4 separate regions of the Homo sapiens genome follow, and all the other regions are linked to region 4. Evidence: promoter capture Hi-C in 16 types of primary human blood cells and fetal thymus (Javierre and others, 2016). All regions are on one chromosome and are shown on one strand. The core of a region is centred on a gene start or on the middle of the fragment in contact, and the rest is flanking DNA. Distances in the headings are between cores, read along the strand shown.

Region 1 (3,481 bases), core at 266-2,765, 150 kb before region 4:
ACAGAGTGACTATAGTCAGTAATAATTTTATTGTACATTTAAAAATAACTAAAAGAGTATAATTTGATTGTTTGTAACACAAAGGATAAATACTTGAGGGAAAGGATACCCCATTCTCTATGATGCATTACATGCCTGTATCAAAACATCTCATGTACCCCATAAATATATACACCTACTATGTACCCACAAAAATTAAAATAAAAAAATATTTTTAAAGAATTAAGGTCTTCTTGGCTGGGTGTGGTGGCTCACGCCTATAATCCCAGCACTTTGGGAGGCCGAGGCAGGCGGATCACGAGGTCAGGAGATTGAGACCATCCTGGCTAACATGGTGAAACCCTGTCTCTACTAAAAATACAAAAAATTAGCCAGGTGTGGTGGCAGGCGCCTGTAGTCCCAGCTACTCGGGAAGCTGAGGCAGGAGAATGATGTGAACCCAGGAGGCAGAGGTTGCAGTGAGCCGAGATCACGCCACTGCACTCCAGCCTGGGTGACAGAGCGAGACTCCATCTCAAAAAAAAAAAAAAAGAATTAAGGTCTTCTCTACTATCTGAAAGGTCCATGATGGGAAACCTTGCCTAATTTAACCATTCACCAGTAACTACTTGTCACGTGATTCAAGATGAAGAAGAGTTTAAAGATATGCAGGAGAGAGGACAGAAGGGGACTGGAATAAGCTTTTTTAAGTGGTTAAACTCTGGGCTTGATTTTGTAGAAAAGACTGCTCGTACTTTCTTTCTTTTCTTTTTTTTTTTTTTTGAGATGGAGTCTTGCTCTGTTGCCCAGGCTGGAGTGCAATGGTGTGATCTCAGCTCACTGCAACCTCCGCCTCCTGGGTTCAAGTGATTATCCTGCCTGAGCCTTCCGAGTAGCTGGGATTACAGGCACACAACACCATGCCTGGCTAATTTTTTTTTTTTTTGAGATGGAGTCTTGCTCTGTTGCCCAGGCTAGGGTGCAGTGGCGTGATCTCAGCTCACTGCAACCTCCGCCTCCCGGGTTCAAGCGATTCTCCTGCCTCAGCCTCCTGAATAGCTGGGACTACAGGTGCCTGCCACCATGCCCAGCTAATTTTTGTATTTTTAGTAAAGGCGGGGTTTCACCATATTGACCAGACTGGTCTCGAACTCCTGACCTTGTGATTCACCTGCCTTGCCCTCCCAAAGTGCTGGGATTACAGGCGTGAGCCACCGTGCCCAGTAATTTTGTATTTTTGTAGAGACAGGGTTTCACCATGTTGGCCAGGCTGGTCTCAAACTCCTGACCTCAGGTGATCTGCCCACCTCAGCCTCCCAAAGTACTGGGATTACAGGCGTGAGCCACCGCGCCTGGCTGTTTGCACTTTTTTTTTCCTTTCTCACCTTACTCATTTGTTGGGACCTGAGTAGAATATTCATTATGTAGCAGGGGGTTGGAGCACTGTTATAATACCAGCAGTCACAAATGTCTTAATAATCAGAATGGAGAGATGTAGTTTTGGGGCATTCTTGCCTCCACTGAGTTCTGGCCTTCACTCTTTTTCTGGTCCTTAAACATAGTAATAATGCTCATAAAAATTTTTTTAATTATCATAATTCACACACCCTACTTTCTCAAATCATTTTCATTGTCTTATTTCCTAGTCAGTTCTTGTTTATACGCACATGTCATTTATACCTGGCTACCACTATAATGTAGATACCATTGTGTATTTTGGTCCCCCACCCCACCCACTTTTGTCATACGCAACTTTTCTATAGGTTAAAATTTCTCAGCCTCAGTGCTATTGACACTTGGGCCAGATGATTTTTTGTTGTGGGGGCTGTCCTGTGTATTGTAGGATGCTCAGCAGCATCCCTAGCCTCTACCATTAAATACCAGTAGTAGCAATCACCTCAGTTATAACAACTGAAAATGTCTCTAGACATTACCAAATGTCCCCTAGGGGCCAACATCACCCCTCCTTTGAGAACCACTGCCATAGAGTCTTAATTTAAGAAAATTTATTTTTCTTCTTTTTTTTTTTTGAAATAGGGTCTTGCTCTGTTGCCCAGGTTGGAGTGCAGTGGTGCAACTTTGGCTCACTCCAACCTCTGCCTCCCAAGGCTCAAATAATCCCACCTTAGCCACCTGAGTAGCCAGGACCACAGGTATGCACCACGATGCCCAGCTAATTTTTGTATTTTTTGTAGAGACAGGGTCTCGCTCTGTTACACAGGCTGGTCTTGAGTTCCTGGGCTCAAACCATCTGCCCGCCTCGGCCTCCCAAAGTACTGGGATTACAGGTGTGAGCCACTGCACCTGGCCTTAATTAAAATTTTAAGTGAGCCATTGCTTTTGAACCCAGTGAAGGAAAAGGTCTTCCTAATAAGCTTCATGAGCAGCTGAAAAATACATGACTTTTTCTGATGGCCTGCTGAGGGAGAAGGTTTTGGAAATTTGGAACTATAAAGAACTCTCTCCTGACTGGACAGGCTGTGTTTCTGAGCCTCTCTGCAGTCTGGGGCTAGAGAATCTGGATGTTTGGTAACAATTTCTAGATTAAAACCACCAGAACCAGAAGAGTTTGGGGCCAGTGGTTTAAGTTTTTAAGTATTAATTATTAAATAATAAATACTAGCCAAATAATAGAACCAGTATTTGTCTAGTAGTTATTATGTGTCAAGCACTTTTGTATATTAGCTCATCTAGTCCTAAGAACAATCCTGCAAGGTAGGTCTTCTTATCTCCATCATATAGATGAAGAAACTGAAGCATGGAAAGGCTAACTTGTTCATGGTCACAGAGCTAAGAAGTGATGGAGCTGAGATTCAAACCTAGCAATCTGATTCCAGAGGCTATGCTTGTCAGCAACTACCACCATTTTCTGAGCACCTACTGAAATCCCTGATACTTGGCTGAGAGCATTGTAAACACGGCTTCCAAGTTTTACAACAGCTCTTCAGGGTAGTGGTATCTCAAATTTTACATCTGTGGAACCAGGGTCTTAGAGAAGCTATAATAACATCTTGTCTATGATCCCCCAGATCTCTGACCCAGAGCCTGACATACTTCCATGTATCATGTGGCCTTCCATGCATGAGTAAAAATTGTTTTATAACCTACTCTTCCCTTTTCCCCTGGAACCTCGTACAGCAAATACCTGTTAAATCCCTTCAGTGGCCAGGTGCAGTGGCTCACGCCTGTAATCCCAGCACTTTGGGAGGCCAAGGTGGGTGGATCACTTCAGGTCAGGAATTCAAGACCAGCCTGGCCAACATAGTGAAACCCTGTTTCTACCAAAAATACAAAAATTAGCCAGGCATGGTGGCGCACACCTGTAATCCCAGCTACTGGGGAGACTGAGGCAGGAGAATTGCTTAGACCTGGGAGGCAGAGGTTGCAGTGAGCCAAGATGTCGCCACTGCACTCCAGCCTGTGTGAGAGAGTGATACCCTGCCACACACACACACGCAAAAATAAGTCCCTTCAGTAATTCAGTGCCAGTCACTAAATAAAT
Region 2 (3,067 bases), core at 151-2,650, 210 kb before region 4:
CCAGACATTAACTTTCTTTAGCATCTGGAACCTGGGTCCTAGGAGACTATTTCCTCCTTACTTCATCCAGACATCAAAAATAGACCCAGCAATTGATCCCATGTTTAGAGGCCCTCAGTGACTCTGCATCCCCAAGGGGAGCCTCATCTCCCAGGACACAGCACTGACACTCTGCAGACAGTACAGGGGATCTACTCCAAGCCCAGGGCAAGACCCCACACCCACTCCCTCTGTCCTTCAGTTCCCGTATGTGTCTTAGACTCCCTGGCCCTGCAAAGGCAAGGAGTGACCTGAAGTCCAGAGCCTCACATGACCACAAGACCCTCAGGTCTAAAGAGTGGCACTTGTTGGAGCCCTGCTCCTGTCCCCACCCTTAGGAGGCTCTGGGAATGGGGTGGGGGAATAGCCTGTGTGGCCATGGCCTCTGGCTCTGGCTTAGACTACTACCTTGCTGCAGTATTGTGTCTTCCTCAAATTTTCTCATAGGTGAGTGCTTACCAGGAGTGGCTCCCACAGAGCTTCCCCATTCACCCAAACCTGTCTGGAAGAGCACCCCAGTTCAGCCACCCAAACCTCACCTCTCACCCTCTTCCAGTTAGCACTGCCTTTTCTCCTTATCCCTGCCAGGGACCCCTTTCTTCCCAGGAGAGATACCCAAATTGTGAGTATCCCACACAATTTAATGGGAACCTACTTTGTGCCAGGCACCAGGCCACGGGTTGTGGATGCAAAAACAAACAAGAAGCAATTACTGCCCTCCTAGAGCTCATGGTGGTTGATGGGGAAATTTATTCCTTTATTCATTCATTCACTAAAATGTACACTGAGCACCTACTGTGTGCTACGCCCTGGGGAGTGCTAAGTTCTTAGGTAGACAGCGATGAAGACAAGTATAGGATTCTGGGGATTCTGCCATCCTTAGAATGCCACCGTGTAGAGTCATGGTTTATAGGGGACACAGACATTAATCAAACCACTTGGCAAGCAGAGAATTATAAGCCATGATAAAGAGAATCACAGGATGCTTTGAGCACCTATAGAAAGGCCAGGAGACAGGAAGCCCGGCTGAATGGGAAGGACCATGGGAGGTGCAGGAGCCAGGCATATACCTGGTAGAACTTGGCTTGGTGCTTATCTTCCTCCTGAAACATGACCCTAGACCCTTGAGAACGTCCCTTCCTGTGCCCTATCCCTCATTCCCCACACCGAGAAAATCTGCCAGCCCCTCTGCATGGCCCCTCCCTCTCTGAGGATACCCGGGCATCTCTCCTTGCTTCCTGTTGATTGGTGGCAGGAGGTTCTAGTGCCCCGCATGGTCACTGACTGAAGTTTTCAGGCCAGCTAAGGGGTGGGGCTTCAGGCTTGTGCGGCCGCTGAGTCCCAGCCTTCTGTGTTCCATGGACCATGGGAGGAGGAGCTGGGATTGGGGCATTTAATGAAAGAACTCCTAGGAGAGGAGTGATGAGGTTTGGCACATTGACATTCACACACCCCACCCACCCCCAGCCTCCACTCCACTGGTTCTCTGGCCTTCTCATTTTTTTTTTTTTTTTGTTTTTTTTTTTTTTTTGGAGACAGAGTCTCTCTCCATCACCCAGGCTGGAGTGCAATGGCACAATCTCGGCTCACTGAAAGCTCTGCCTTCCGGGTTCATGCCATTCTCCTGCCTCAGCCTCCCGAGTAGCTGGGACTACAAGCGCCCACCAGCACACCCGGCTAATTTTTTGTATTTTTAGTAGAGACAGGGTTTCACCGCGTTAGCCAGTATGGTCTCGATCTCCTGACCTCGTGATCCGCCTGCCTCGGCCTCCTAAATTGCTGGGATTACAGGCTGGCCTTCTCATTTTTAAGGCCTGGCTAGGATAAGTTCCCCACCCCTGTCCCTCAGAAGAATGGCAGGGCCTGGGCAGCAGAGCCCTGGGCCTGGGACCCATCCAACAAAATGGCTATTCCAGACGCCTGGTCCTGCCTGGCTTTGACTTCTCATCCACTCTACACTGTGACATGGATCTGGGTGGGGCAGGCTGCTCTGCTTCCAGGTAAGGACTGTGCCACCCACGCAGCCAAAGACCACCTTGGGAATACCAGTACCTGGGCAAGAGATAGCCCCTGCAAGGCCCACCCACCATAGGCTGGCTCAGAGAAGGCTGAGGATCCCTGTGTTCTCCCTGAACAGGGGTACAGGGCCCCTCAGCAGGGCCAGCTCCTCACCAGGGTGCCAACCCATGGCTGGTGGCTGGGAGGAGGGTGCTATGCAATGCTGGGAGCTTGACCCAGGCCTCAGCCTTAAGGAGCAAATGTGTCCAGGGCCACCAACTGGCCTAAGTCCTTGGGCATAGCCTCTGTCTCATGCCTCTTGATCTCACCAGGGGGGATCTCCAGGGTGGCCCGCCTGGGAATGCCTGTCCCTCAGCTGGCACACAAGTACCCATGGCAGTGCCGCAGGTTATCCAGCAGCAGCCACAACAGATAAGGCAGCCTGCCACCTCAGGCAGCCGTGGTCTCTGTTTTGCTTCCTTTTCTCTTTAGGATGAGACTGATGAGGGTGGGGTGGGGATTAACCCTTGAGTTGCTATACGTAGTTTGGCCCAAGCCTAGGACTTTGGGAAGTGCTTTATATCACTGCTTTCTTCCTGTGGCCCTGGCCTTTGCAGATGTGGGTCTCTCGGCCTCCCCTTCTGCCAGAAGCCTTCCCTTCTGCCAGACACTCCATATTCAGGGTGGCCACAACACTGGTCTGGTTGGTGCTGAGACCCCAGCACAGAAAAAGGGGCCTCCTCTGCTCCTGGTGTCATTGCCCATGAGCCATTTCTGTGGAGAGAAAAGTTTGAGAATCCTCTTTGGAAAGCCTGAAGTGTGGCACCGAGCAAAGGTATGATCCTTGTTCTCACCTTCCTGGCCCTGCATTCATCCCATTCCATCCCTGCTCTCTAGTTACAGGAACACCCTATGGCCTCCAGGCCAGTGCATTTGGTCCCTGGTAGGCAGGGCTGCCTGCCTGCCTGAGTTTCCCACATGGGAAGATGCAGCAAGACCTCCCCAAGCTTTTGGAAGAGGCAAGGACAGC
Region 3 (3,512 bases), core at 584-3,083, 190 kb before region 4:
GCCCCAGAGGGCCATAAATACTTTCATGCGCATCTGTTCTCTTGGAGGGCTTGTCACACCTGAAGGCTCCTAGGCCCTGGCTCCCAGGGATTCAGAAGTGATAGGTCTAGGATGAAGCCCAGGAATCTGCATACATAAAAAGTGACACTCTCCACTCTGATGCGGGTGGACTCCATACCTTCCAGGCTGGGGAGGGGAGGGGGCAGGACAAGCACACTCTCATCTGGACTGTGGCTGAAGCAGCTCAGAGAATCGAAGGTAGCATCTAAAATAAGGACCTGGATGCACTGGGAACAAAGGTAGTGTGTGTCTCCACTGCTGCAGCTAAAGAATTGCAGTGGAGTGGCCCTGGTCATCATGCAGAAAAATGACTCCTGATCACCAGTCCAAGGAGCCACAGAAATAAGAGATGGGGCCATGATCGGACCATAGATCTGTCTTTTAACCTGTACCTTCTCCTAGGGTGCAGACAGGGAGGCAGGAAGGGGATTACTGGAGGCTGCAGTAAACTAGAGAACAAGCTCTGTGCAAAGGAAGCCTCTCTTACCATTCAGCATCTCAATGAATTAACCCTCACAACAGCTCTATGTGGTTGGTCCTATTATTATTCCCATTTCTTAGATGGGGAAACTGAGACTCAAAAAGGTGGAGTAAGTAGTGCTGGGTCCCAAGGTGAGGACATAGGGGAACCATGGCTGGAACACAGGCCTCTGGACACTCCGAATCATAGCATTGCCCTGTGTCCCCTTCAGTGGGAAAAGTCACTTCATCTCTTAATCTTAAATGATCTTCCAAGCAAGAGGAGGGGAGAGGAGGAGTATAAGCTTTCTTTGTCCCATCTTTTTCAGAAGGTATCTAAGTCCTTCCTGTGTGTGTCTTCCAAAGATACAGTACCAGGACCTAGAGAGGCTGAGATTTAGAGCCTCATGGTGCAAACTCAATTGTAGGGTCCTAGCCAGGACTACTTGCCTGTATCTTCTAAGAATCTCACAACAGTGCCACATGCCTCAGCTTTATCCAAGCAACAGAAGGAGGTGGTGGAGGTGGTGATGGCAGCAGCAGCAGCAGCAGCAGCAGTGGCAGCAAATCTGTCCCCAGTGCACTACAGTACTGTTTTGCTATGATGAAATACACATGGCATATGGCTACAAAGTTACTATCTTGAGAGTGGATAGAAATGGGATTTTTCATGTGCCAGATTTCACTTCCCTTTCTGAAACAATTCTTGTAGTAAACAGAGGTTTTCTGATCTTGCTAAGATCAAGAGGATGGGAATTCCTTTACACTTTTAAAGTAAGACCACTGTCTTGTAGAGTTTCAGTCTGTTGATGGTGCAAATGTTTTTTAAACATGGACGCTATTCTGTGTTCCTCCCTCTTTCCTTCCAAAGGCTACGACACAAAGAGGAGCTGCTAACACCAGATGACCAACTCCTTTCCAGTTACGGACCATCCCGGTGATGAGACCTCCATATGTTGTCTGATGGCCGCAGTTCCTTGGCAAGTGGGTGGGGAAAAGGAAAGTTGTGTTGAGTGTGGGAGGCCACAGGGTGGAGGAGGTTAGGAAGGACCAGAAAGCACATAGAATGTGACTTTAAGGAGGAGAATTTTTTTGAACCATGTCTTGTGTGCTGACAGCATAATGATCATTATTAGGGCCTCAGATGTAACATGAAGCCCACCCTGAAGTTAAATTTTCCTTTTCAGAGAAGCGTGGCCTGTCAGCCCAGCATCAGATGGTTCCATGCCAACCTCCTCCATGGCTAGGTGTTGGAGCGCCCCAGCTGCTGCCTCCCTGGTAGCTTTCATTAAAGGACTTTGCTTTTTTGGTAAATAAGGGCCCCATTTTTCTACCTTAGTCTTTGAAAATCAACCTGAGAAACACTTTGTGTAAGTACCACAGATGTATTTGCAGTTTTCTACACACATTTAGTTTCTGGGGTTTTTCGTTGTTTTTTGTTTGTTTGTTTTTTGAGATAGAGTTGCCCAGGCTGGAGTGCAGTGGCATGATCTTGGCTCACTGCAGCCTCCACCTCCCAGGTTCAAGTGATTCTCCTGCCTCAGCCTCCCGAGTAGCTGGCATTACAGTTGTGTACCACCACGTCCACCTAATTTTTTGTATTTTCAGTAGAGATGGTGTTTCACCATGTTGGCCAGGCTGGTCTTGAACTCCTGACCTCAAATGATCAACTGCCTTGGACTCCCAAAGTGCTGGGATTACAGGCATGAGCCACTGTGCCCGGCTGGCCAACTAGTTTCAAGGTTGCTATCTGGAATCCTACCTCCCCAGGCACCCTCCTGGTCACAGCATGACCTCTAACAGAGGGGCAGATCTGTAGCCTTAGTTGTACCCAGACAAATTTGGTTTGGCTTTCATGGTATTTTGAAATTGGTTTTCATGTCAAAATCCTGTTTGCTGGCTTCTCTTGAAAAATCAGAAAACTTGGCCACATTGAGTTATATTCCTGAATGTCAAGTGGCTGGATCTGAATGAGTAGTGCTCCCTTTGCACAGAGCATGTTATCTGATATGCCTCAGTCCCTACCACTTCCCACCATCCCCCGCAACCACACCCCAAGAGAAAATATGAGCTAAAAGGCAGATATAGATATAGGTGTTCTGGTCTTGACCCTACCACTCATTTCCTGTGGCTCCTTGAACAGGTGTCTACATCTCTTAGGAAGAAGAGAATAATGAGATGATGTATGCAGAGCACTGGCAGAAAGCCTAGCATAGAGGAATCTGAGGATTCGCCATGCATGCTTCCTGGTATATAGTACTAGTTCTTGTCAATGGCACAGAGACTTGAAGACTGTATATAAATGGACACACCTACTAGAATGTAAGCTTCATATGCACAAGGACTTTAAAAAATCTGTTTTGCTTATTTCTACATCCCCAGGGCCTAGAGCAGTCCCTGGCACATGGTAGGCCATAGGCCCTCAGTAAATGTGTTGAATGAATATGTGGATTTAATATTTCCCTGACTTATTTTCTTATGTCATGTGCTAAGTCATCGGTCCATTTTAAAAATATAAATGCAAATAGACTTATAAGCTGATTATTTCTAATTTATATGTGTTGAATTTATTTTCTTAATTACTGAAAAGATTAAAAAGCAGAAGGATGCTTCATAGTTGACGGAACTTCATTGCCATAGTCATTTGACTCACAGCCTGGGAGAAAAATGTATTCTTCTTCTAGGTTGATTTTCTAAGATCACTATCAGAAGGCCAGGCTACTTCAGGAATCAAGTCAAAATTAAAAACACATGCATTTATGTGATACCTCTTGAGAACGCAAGTTGCTGTACAAACACATTTAAAGCATTAAGTGCTCCCTGATGCCCTTTCCTCAGAAGTAGTACTTCCAGAAAGGAGAGTGCATTTAGGTAAAACCAATGGCAGGTTCTATGCAATGATATCAACATGGCTCAACCTCTGAGTGCCAGAATTTGCTTCTCATTAGATACAACTTTTCTGGAAATACAAGAGAAGGTAAGTTGATTTCCAA
Region 4 (3,285 bases), core at 421-2,920:
TGTAAGGATATGGGGGAAAGGCTTTCCTTACAGAGAAAATAGATCCTGCAAAGATCCTCAGGCAGGAACAGGTTTTGCAGAACAGGTGAAGGCCAGTGTGGTTAGAAAGGAGTGAGCGAGGGGAGGCTGGTGTGAGATGCCGTCAGAGAGGTGGGTTGGGGCCAGGGTGTGAATCTTGCAGGCCACGACAAGGAGCTTGATTTTTTTTTCTTCTTCTTCTAGGAGTAATGGGAGTGTGTTGGGTGAGTATTGAACCGAAGAGTAATGTGGCTCAACTGCCTTTTGAAAGGACATGTATGGTGTGGAGGATGGACTTTGGGCAAGGGAGGAAGAGTGGAAGCAGGGGGGTTATTACAAGAGACCAGGAAGCTACTGAAATAATTCAGGTGAGAAATGATGGTTGTTTGAATCAGGGTAGCAGTGCTGGAGGTGGGGAGATGTGGTTGGATTATGGGTATATTTTGAAGATAGAGTCAACAGGATTTGCAAATAATGGACCACATTTTCCTTTGCTCATTTAGCTCCAGGAACTCCTTCACTTACACCCCCTAGTGGGCTCCTCCATCCTCACAGGGCAGATCCCAGGGACACAGCTAAATTAGGGAATTCCTAAGTGTTGTTGGACAAAAGAATTTAAGACTCGTTAGCTGGGCAGCCAGGCACAGTGGCTTACGCTTGTAATCCTAGCACTTTGGGAGGCTGAGGCGGATGGATCACCTGAGGTCAGGAGTTTTTGAGACCAGCCTGGCCAACATGGTGAAACCCTGTCTCTACTAAAAATATAAAAATCAGCCAGGCCTGGTGGCACATGTCTGTAATCTCAGCTACTTGGGAGGCTGAGGCAGGAGAATCACTTGAACCCAAGAGGTGAAGGTTGCAGTGAGCTGAGATCACACCACTGCACTCCAGCCTGGGCGACAGAGCGAGACTCCGTCTCAAAAATAAAATAAAATAAAATAAAAGACTTAGCTGGGCATGGTGGCGTGCACCTGTAGTCCCAACTACCTTGGAGGCTGAGGTGGGAGGATCACTTGAGCTAGGAGGTCAAAGGTGCAGTGAGCTATAACTGTGCCACTACACTCCAGACTGGGTGAGAGAGTGAGACCCTGTCTCAAAAAAAAAGAAAAGAAAAGAATTTAAGACTCAGACACTAGGTCTTCCACCATTATCCCATTTAATGGGCAGGTCCTCTGCCTGCTATCTCCCTTACCCTGTCTGGCTTCCATGGACTCAATTATTTATTAGGTCCCTGTTTGTCCAAATAGGTGTGTCTGTGGCCCCAGGGGTGTGTTGGTGACACCCAAAACAGTCCTGGGTGTTTGGTATTTATATTTGATACAAGTGAGGGGGGCAGCAAAATCTGGGGGTACCAAGTCCTCAGACCCAAGCCAATCATTTACTCCTGTTTCTTTACACAAAACACAGTGGGATCAGACCTGATACCACAGGAAATGCACATACACATTTTGGCCCCAGGTTGGGCATTTCTGGAGAGCCTGGGAAAGGCCAGACTAGTCTTACAAATACTCTTATGCCAGCAGGGGGTGGGGTAAGCAAGTAGGGGAGTAGGTGACCGGTAGAGTCTGGAGTCAGCAGGCCTTGTTCTGTTTGTGTTGTGCTGCAGTGGGGGATGCATTATAAATGCAACCAGCCAGAGGGCCCCTGGCTTCAGAACCTAGGACTGTACTGGTTCTGAGATTCTGTGCAAGCCTCATGGAAATGAAGCTGCCAGGCCAGGAAGGGTTTGAAGCCTCCAGTGCTCCTAGAAATATTCCTTCAGGGGAGCTGGACAGCAACCCTGACCCTGGCACCGGCCCCAGCCCTGATGGCCCCTCAGACACAGAGAGCAAGGAACTGGGAGTACCCAAAGACCCTCTGCTCTTCATTCAGCTGAATGAGCTGCTGGGCTGGCCCCAGGCGCTGGAGTGGAGAGAGACAGGCAGGTAAGTTGGATGCAGGCCAGTTCTGTGGGATCCTTCCCCTTCCCCAGCTGGAGCCTCCTATATGTCCCCCAGCGCTTCTTATGGGGCTGCCCAAAATTAGGATTTTCCCAGCTGTGTTCCCTTATTTCAGGGTCTTACCTTCCATGATGCCCAGCCTCCTCTGCAGTCTAGTTTTGAGATCCCCAAGACCCTAGATGAGGGGTGACTGCCAGGGTGGGGGGGAGACTTCACACCACTGGGCCCAGGATGCCCTCATTGCCTTGCCTTCCCTAGCTCCTCTGCATCTCTGCTCCTGGACATGGGAGAAATGCCCTCAATAACACTGTCTACCCACCTTCATCACAGGTGGGTACTGTTTGAGGAGAAGTTGGAGGTGGCTGCAGGCCGGTGGAGTGCCCCCCACGTGCCCACCCTGGCACTGCCCAGCCTCCAGAAGCTCCGCAGCCTGCTGGCCGAGGGCCTTGTACTGCTGGACTGCCCAGCTCAGAGCCTCCTGGAGCTCGTGGGTAGGCTGGGATCCTTTGCAGGAAGGGCCTGGGTAGCCATGCCTTTTCCCCAGGATTTCCCCTCCAAAGTCTTGAAATCTTCCAGAGCCCATCCCTACCCCTCCTAGGATTGTCTACCCTTGTCACAGGGTGGACATGGAAAAGCAGGGTGGAGGAGCAAGTTCATTGGCCCTGGCATTCTGAGACTCCCAGAAGGGAAAGGTGTCTGGGCAGAGGGAGAAGGGGAAGAGTGTGCGGCAGGGAACTCTCAGGAAGGAGATGACCCCCAATCCATTCTCCAGAGCAGGTGACCAGGGTGGAGTCGCTGAGCCCAGAGCTGAGAGGGCAGTTGCAGGCCTTGCTGCTGCAGAGACCCCAGCATTACAACCAGACCACAGGCACCAGGCCCTGCTGGGGTGAGAGCCCCTCCCTGGGCCCAGGACCAAGACCCTGGTGTGGCAGGGTCTCAGATCTCCCCTGCACCTTCCAGGGCTAGAAGTAGCCCAGGCTTAGTTCAGGCTCCAACCCAGGACTCATGAGCAAGAGGAAACTGGTGGTAATGTTGTGGGGAGAAGATTCAGGGGGCTAGAATCGTAAGAGAGTTCTGTGAAGACATGTACTTGGTAGGCACTAGGCCTACCATTTGATCTTCACAGTATCTCATTTGATCTTCACAACCACCCTGTAAATAGTACCACAATTATCCCCATTTTAGTGGTGAGAAAACTGTGGCTCAGAGTGGAGAAGGGTATACTCTAATTCTTACAGCTTGTCAGTGGCAAAAGTGATTAGGGAATCCTGGTGGATCCACCCCCAAAGCCTGTGGTCTTAATCACTGCATAATCCTGTTTTGTAGG

What was found. Contacts are between HindIII fragments. The CHiCAGO score rates a contact against its expected background, and 5 or more counts as called.
Region 1: a fragment that was not itself captured here is called in contact with the fragment with the promoter of SLC4A9 in region 4 in 1 of 17 cell types (endothelial precursors); the score reaches 5.2 in endothelial precursors.
Region 2: a fragment that was not itself captured here is called in contact with the fragment with the promoter of SLC4A9 in region 4 in 2 of 17 cell types (M0 macrophages and endothelial precursors); the score reaches 5.3 in M0 macrophages.
Region 3: a fragment that was not itself captured here is called in contact with the fragment with the promoter of SLC4A9 in region 4 in 6 of 17 cell types (M0 macrophages, endothelial precursors, M1 macrophages and 3 more); the score reaches 16.9 in M0 macrophages.

The regions. Positions count from the first base shown.
Region 1 is chr5:140,208,523-140,212,003 of GRCh38, forward strand. The region is part of intron 2 of CYSTM1 (cysteine rich transmembrane module containing 1); the gene reads left to right. Among named protein-coding and RNA genes, the nearest start is that of CYSTM1, 35 kb to the left of the region's middle. The HindIII fragment of the contact is 1,674 bases long and covers 679-2,352 here.
Region 2 is chr5:140,147,420-140,150,486 of GRCh38, forward strand. No RefSeq gene overlaps it. Among named protein-coding and RNA genes, the nearest start is that of IGIP, 23 kb to the left of the region's middle. The HindIII fragment of the contact is 3,283 bases long and covers 1-3,042 here.
Region 3 is chr5:140,165,975-140,169,486 of GRCh38, forward strand. LOC101929719 (a long non-coding RNA gene) reads left to right here. Exons shown (of 5, transcript NR_130738.1): 3 at 1,391-1,499; 4 at 1,707-1,828; 5 at 2,663-2,811. Among named protein-coding and RNA genes, the nearest start is that of CYSTM1, 7.5 kb to the right of the region's middle. The HindIII fragment of the contact is 2,022 bases long and covers 823-2,844 here.
Region 4 is chr5:140,358,524-140,361,808 of GRCh38, forward strand. It overlaps SLC4A9 (solute carrier family 4 member 9), which reads left to right and starts at 1,671. Exons shown (of 22, transcript NM_031467.3): 1 at 1,671-1,943; 2 at 2,289-2,449; 3 at 2,731-2,844; 4 at 3,285. The coding sequence starts at 1,714. The HindIII fragment of the contact is 10,887 bases long and covers 1-3,285 here.